Regions from separate parts of the Homo sapiens genome. Here region 2 is linked to region 1. Evidence: promoter capture Hi-C in human tissues and cell types (Jung and others, 2019). All regions are on one chromosome and are shown on one strand. The core of a region is centred on a gene start or on the middle of the fragment in contact, and the rest is flanking DNA. Distances in the headings are between cores, read along the strand shown. Region 1 holds the start of VEZF1 (vascular endothelial zinc finger 1). Region 2 holds the start of OR4D1 (olfactory receptor family 4 subfamily D member 1).

Region 1 (3,216 bases), core at 330-2,829:
AACTCTTTCATCATTTTCTGTCCCCTCCTATCTTAGGCTGACCGGTTCCCTGATGTGTTACCTGCTTCTGCTACTGATCCAAACTGCAGAACTTCTCATTCATCCCCAAGGCCTCCAGGCAGTATCCAATGGGGAATCAGCTCTAAAAGGAACCAGACCAACGTTTTCCAGCCCCTTCATTCTGGTGACTGAGGGGAGGAAAGAATGGGAGGGGGTATTCTTGTCTAGTGGATGGAAAGGAAACACACTGTCAAATTACTATATCTCCTTGGTTTTCTATTACAGTAGAATTCTCCAGCCATATTTTTATTGTCTATGGGGGAAGTTGGAGATGGTGACCTTGATTAGAAGTGTCTGGAGGGGGATAAATGGAGGGGATAAGATTCAGTTGGTTTTGGAAAATGTTAAAGTCTTAAAATAATGCGTCCATCTGAAGAATTTTTTCTAAAACCAGAGTTTATAAAAATATCACTGATACAGCCTGCCCCCTCATTTCCCTGCCACAGGAGATGTCTTGGACTAGAGACACTTGTTTAATAATAGCTTGTCTCTGATATTCCCAGTAGCTTCCCTCTGTGTGAGGAAAGGATAGAAATGTTCAGGACATCATCATACAGGCTCCTCATCTACAAAGTTCCAGTAGCAGTGACGCCTACACGGAAGACTTGGAACTGCAAACAGGCTGGGGTCACCTCAGTGACATCTGACGCTGTCCAACCAGAAGTTCGATTTTTGTTCTGGGGGTGAAGGAGGAAACAGACTGTACTAAAGGACTAAAATAATTTGTCTATACTATCTCACTTGTTTTTATTTTTGGCGGGAGAGGAGGGGTGTTGGGATAGAATTTCACATCCTATCTTGGAGTGAAGGGGAGGATGGGGAGGCTCAGCCCTTCACCCAAGAATAACCCAGTAATGACATCTCTACGCGTGGGAAGTGTTTCCCTCCACACTGAGAGGATCTGAGGCTGCACCCCAGTGGGATTCCCTGCTTGAGTTGGAAGGCCATCTCGCCATGAGATGCATATCATAGCGAGAGCGCAGAGGGCTTAGCCGGCCGGGGAGGAAATGCCAAAAGGAAGAGAGGCTCGAAGTCGAAAGGGCTTCCCCCAGTTTGGAGGTGGGGACCATGCTGTGCATGAGCGACTGAAGAGCCGAGTGTCCGCCGTGGCCTGTGCCCTCCGCTGAGGGTCTAACAGGGACGCGACGGTGCTGGACACCGTGTCTGAGTCACGGGAGACGGCCCAGCTGTGCCCAGCGGGCCAGCGCCAGACCCTGGCGTCCTCCATCTTCTCTCCTGAGCTCCCCCTGCTCCAGCTGCCTGAGCCACGGACCGCAGCACCACACACCCCCGCGGGGGGGGACGCCGCGCCCCATCCCCGCCCCGGGCCCCACCCCAGCCCCCCCGCGGGGGCCCTGACCCCACCGCCAGCGGGCACTGGCTGAGCTCCGAGGCGGCGAGCCGGCAGCGGGGACGCCCAGAGGGGGTCCGGGCGACTGGGGGCGGCGGCGGCCGGGCCGGGGCTCCCCCCCCGCCCGCGCTCGCCGCCGCGGTGGTGCGTCCCGGAGGTTACCGGAAGTGGCCGCGCTCGGCGCTGCCATGTTGAGGAGCCGCCGCTGCCGTTGCCGCCGCCGCCGCCGCCGCTTTGTTGTCGCCTCCTCCGGCTGAGGAGGCTCCCCGAGCGGGGGGAGTGGGGAGGAGGGGGGTCGGCCGCCGCAGCCATGGAGGCCAACTGGACCGCGTTCCTGTTCCAGGTACTGGGGGCCCCCCCGGGGGGGCACGGGGGGGACAGGGGGGCCGGGCCCCGGGCTGGCGGGCGGGCGGGCGCTCCTCCTCCCCTCCCTCCCGGCTCCGCTCTCCGGCCCGGCCTTAATCCCCCTTTGTTTTTCCGCCCGCCCGCCCCGGCGAAGCGGGGCTGCTGAGGTGAAAGGAGGCGGCCTCACGGGGTGCGGGGGAGATAGCAGGCCGCGGGGTGAACCCGGGGGCCCCCCAGCACACACACGCACACACACACACTCACACACACCCTTCCCTCTCGCTCTGAAGGGGAAGGGAGGAGGCCGGTCGCTGTCACCACCCCGCGGCCCAGAGAAAGGAGGGCGCCGGGCCGCTGGATAGCGCGGGCTGCTGGGCCATTGCGTGCCGGCCCGGTCCCCCACGGTGGGGTGAGGAGGTCCCCAGGTCCTGCCCTGAGTCTCCTCCCCGCCACTTCATCCATCTTTCGCTTGTTCTCTTTTCACCTTCCTCGTCTTTTTGTGTGTGTGCGTGCGTGTGTTGACTTTCTGACCCCCTCCCGTGTCCCCGCGAATAGCGGGTATCCCCAGGTTCCCCGCCACTCCCCCTCACCGCCACCACCCCTCTCGTGTTTACCCAGTTGGGGGGGCGGATGTTGTGAGTGTGTATCCCCTCCCCAAACTTTTTCACTGGATTTACATTTTTTTTTCCCAAGTCTCAGCCGAGCCTTGGCAGCTGACACCTTCTCCCTCTGTCCAGCTCTCCCGCCGTCCCATTCAGCCTGGGGAATCCCCCAGCCGGGCCGGCCCGGGGCAGGCGGGGAGCGGTGGGGGCCGGGACTCCTGGAGGCCCGACCTTCTCCCGAAGCGCTTTTCTTTCTCGCCCACCTCGAACGTTTCCTCCAACCAAGTGGAGAGAGCAAACAAAGTCCGCTTACAAAGCCCCCAGATGAGTCACTCTCTGGGATGTTGGTCTTCGCTTTTTTGCAAGAAACTTGAAAGTGACTGTAGCCGATGTGTTTTGGCAATTCTCTTGCCCGCCCACTTTAGATGGGGGACCCCTGTTTGGCAGATCTAGGCTGGAACTTATTTTTTTCCTACTTCGTTTCTGTTTGCAAAACGAAGCATTCAGTGGGCAGTAGCGATGAGCTCACGGGGAAACTTCGGAACTGGAGGAGGTTAGGAAGCTCGTCACTTTTAAGTGCGTTCTTCCCGCCTCTCTGAGTTATTTTCCTTTGAATACTTCGTGAAATCCCAAACGCGTAGCTGGGGCGCTTGATACCTTTTGAAACTAACAGGAACGGATGCAGAATTTTCAAAAAATTATTCTCCCAGCCACTGGATTCATCCTAGTGGAGTTAATATAGAGAATTGGATAACTCAGAAATTACCTACTGTGTAGACTGGCCTGTTGTTTTAAGACATATTTTTTCAAATGTGGGCAATTTGATCTTTAAGTAGTTATGGAAATATATTTGGGCTT
Region 2 (3,216 bases), core at 391-2,890, 160 kb before region 1:
TAAATATTTTGCTGGCATTATCTTTTTTAATTCTCACATATTATTCCCATGTTTATAAGTATAGTAAGTACCATAAATTATCTCCACTTTACAGATAAGTAAACTGTGGCTTGAATAGGTTAACTAATTTCTCCCAGATCACATGGAGAAGAAGAAGCAGAGCTGGGATTCTGAGCCAGGTCTGATTGACCCAGAATTTGCACTCCTAATGACTATTCTCCTCTTACCTGCTCTCCTCTAAGAAGATTCAGCTTCAGCCAAACTTATCTCTTCTTCGGTCCCTCAGGTCTCAGTGCCTTCATCCAGTCAGTGCCGCATCTGAATTGCTTTTCTGTCCTGTTCACCTGTCTGAATTCTACCCTTCCTTCAAGGTTCAAGAGTAATTAGCTCTTCCATAATGTTGCTATGCCTTGGTATTTTTTCATGAGGATGGCTCTGTTCCTCACATGTGTTGTAATTTCAGTGCAAATCCAATATGTTAAGTATTACACAGTACGTGGTACACACAGACCCTTTCTCATAGTTGGTTCCCAAAAGAATGTGTGATTGCTTAATGGAGGACAGGGTGCTGGGATGGGCCAGACTGCCGTGAGAGCTGGGAAGAAAGAGAGAGTAGCCACTGGATAGAATGCAGTTTATAGGACCTCAAAGAGAATCCAAGAATCCTAATTCCCAGCATCACCAGATTTACAATCCTAGAAGCATCATCTTAGCATGGCCCGATTCTTTCCACAAACCCATCAGAATCTTTGCAAATGCTTCCTCCCCCTACATGCATAGAAAATAGATTTAGAGGGATTCTAGACAAGAAAGAAAATAGACATAGGGAGGGACATGGATCTGTATGGGGAAAGGGGAGGATTCTAGACCTCTTCTGTTGTTACTCAATCTTCTCTCCCATCTGTCTTTGCTCTTAGAAAATCAGCCCACACAGGACTAGGAGAGACGAGGGGAGAAGGAATAAGTGGGTTCCCAAAATGGGGTAGAATCTAGTCTGTTGTCATCCAGGGAGCATTAACAGGTATTGTTAAACACAAGATTTAAGAAAAGAGAGGATAAGATGGAGGGACAGCAATAAAGAAGGGAAGAAAATCTGGAGTGAGTGAGAGAAGCAGGCAGGAGAAGGGGGAAGATGGAGGAAGATGAGACTTAAAAAGGAACAGTAGAGGGTGGAAAGTGTCAGAGCAAGACCTGTTTGTGTTTTCTCCTAGGTGTGGGAAGAAGCTGTAGTATGTATGTGGGAGGCGGGGGAGATAACAGTGTATGTCTATATTCCGCTCTCCCTCCCACCCTCTGTTCTAAATTCCACCCAGCACATAAGCCAATACAGACAAAAGTCTTAATGTTAGATAAAATCAATGTTTCCCAAATCCCGTTCCCCTTGCATTAATGCCTGATGACTTCCCCCATGCCTTCCCTCCACCCCATGCTTGTCTCACGATAGGCTTTGTCGTGCTGATTTGTCCATGGGAAGGACAATGAGGCCATCACCTTCCTCCAGCCCACAGTGGCCAAGAGGACTTAGAGCCTCCCATCTCCCAGGTCACTCTTCTCCTGTAGCTCCATTCTTCTCCTGGCCTCTCTCAGACAAGGAACACATATGGGATTGGCCTTAAGGAAAGGGAAATTCCTTGGGGAGTAAAACTTAGGCTTAATTCATAAGATAAAGCCTGGCTCAGGCTGCTAAGGGCAAATGAGCAATGGGAGTTATTAAAAAGTATGTGAGATGTTGCATCAGATGCACATAATTATTGGGAGACTGTCTTGGGGCCAACATTTCAGAGTTACTGATCAAAGGACCAAGATGAAGAAGGATAAGAACCCTAAAGAGACGTGAATTCCCAGGGAGGTTTACAAGAACCAAATCCCTCAGCACCATGGGCAGTGCAAGGCCTCCACCCTCTCCTATCACCACTGTAGTTGGAAAAGTGAGTTATGTCCTAGGACACAGTCCAGGTCACCCCCTCTATAAACTCCAAAGCCTTTTTCATATGTACAGTCATTAAGGTACCATCTCTTATCCCAATCTCTGATCTGCTCTTCTCTCAGCCAAAGTGAACTCTCAATGTAAATTGGCTAAGTTCATCCTCAAGATATAATTCAACTACCATAAGCTTCACAATTATTAAATGATTTTAACCATTCAGTGGTTTTTAGTATATTCACAAACTTGTGTAACCATCACCACTACCTAATTCCAGAACATTTTCTTCGTTCTGAAAAGAAATCTCATATCCTTTAGCAGTCACTGCCCATTCTGTTCTCTCCTCAGTCTCTGGAAACCACTAATCTACTTTTTGTCTCTGGATTTGCCTGTTCTGGACATTTCCTAAAAATTGAATCATATAACACACATATGATGATATATGGCTTTTGTGTCCTGCTTCTTTCACTTATGTTTTTAAGTTTCATCTGTACTGTAGCATGTACCAGTACTAGTCATGTACCAGTCATTCCTTTTTATGACTGGATAATATTACATCATATGGATATACCACTTTTGTAAATCAGTCAGTCAGCTCTCGGACATTTGAGTTCTTTCCACTTTTTAGCTATTATGAATAAAGCTGCTAGGAATATTCATGTATAGGATTTTGTGTGGATGTATTCTTTCATTTTTCTTTGGTATATAGCTAGATGTGGAATTGCTGGATTTTATAGCAACTGTGCCTAATCTTTTGAGGAATAACCATCTTACTTAGAATAGTGAGAGTGAAGTGGCATCTCATAATTTTCGCATTTGTATTTATAAAGAATATGGTCTGTAGTTCTTTTCTTGTATCTTTGTCTGGCTTTGGTATCAAGATAATGCTGGCCTCATAGAATGTGTTAAAAAGTGTTCCCTTTGCTTCTGTTTTTTTTTTTTTTTTTTACAAGAACTTGCATAGTATTGGTGTTCATACTCCTTTAAATGTTTGGCAGAATTTACCACTAAAGCCATCTGGTACTGGACTTTTCTTGGTTGGGAGGTTTTTTAAACACTGATTCAACATTTACTTGTTATAGGTCTGTTGAGACTTTCTATTTCTTTTGAAATCAGTTTTGGTAATTTGTGTTTCCAGGAATTTTTCCATTTAATCTAAATTAGCCAATTTGTTGGCATATAGTGCTCATAGTACTCTCTTACAATCCTATTAATTTTTGTAAGGTTGGTAGTAATGTTTCTGATTTTATTTATTTGCCTCTTCTCTTTTTTTCTTAGTTTAGCTAAACATT

What was found. The method cuts DNA at HindIII sites, captures the fragments that hold promoters and counts their contacts. A contact is called where the count stands out against the background at its distance.
Region 2: a contact is called between the fragment with the promoter of OR4D1 here and the fragment with the promoter of VEZF1 in region 1, in 1 of the 25 tissues and cell types used here (adrenal gland).

The regions. Positions count from the first base shown.
Region 1 is chr17:57,986,617-57,989,832 of GRCh38, reverse strand. It overlaps VEZF1 (vascular endothelial zinc finger 1), which reads left to right and starts at 1,579. Exons shown (of 6, transcript NM_007146.3): 1 at 1,579-1,754. The coding sequence starts at 1,722. It overlaps LOC101929185 (a long non-coding RNA gene), which reads right to left and starts at 1,723. Exons shown (of 1, transcript XR_001752716.3): 1 at 1-1,723. It also overlaps a transcript of SRSF1 not described here. RefSeq lists enhancers at 977-1,116, 1,137-1,186 and silencers at 1,337-1,616, 1,687-2,166, 2,247-2,316. The HindIII fragment of the contact is 6,267 bases long and covers 1-3,216 here.
Region 2 is chr17:58,146,808-58,150,023 of GRCh38, reverse strand. OR4D1 (olfactory receptor family 4 subfamily D member 1) reads right to left here and starts at 1,640. Exons shown (of 4, transcript NM_001386095.1): 1 at 1,440-1,640; 2 at 228-595. The HindIII fragment of the contact is 15,992 bases long and covers 1-3,058 here.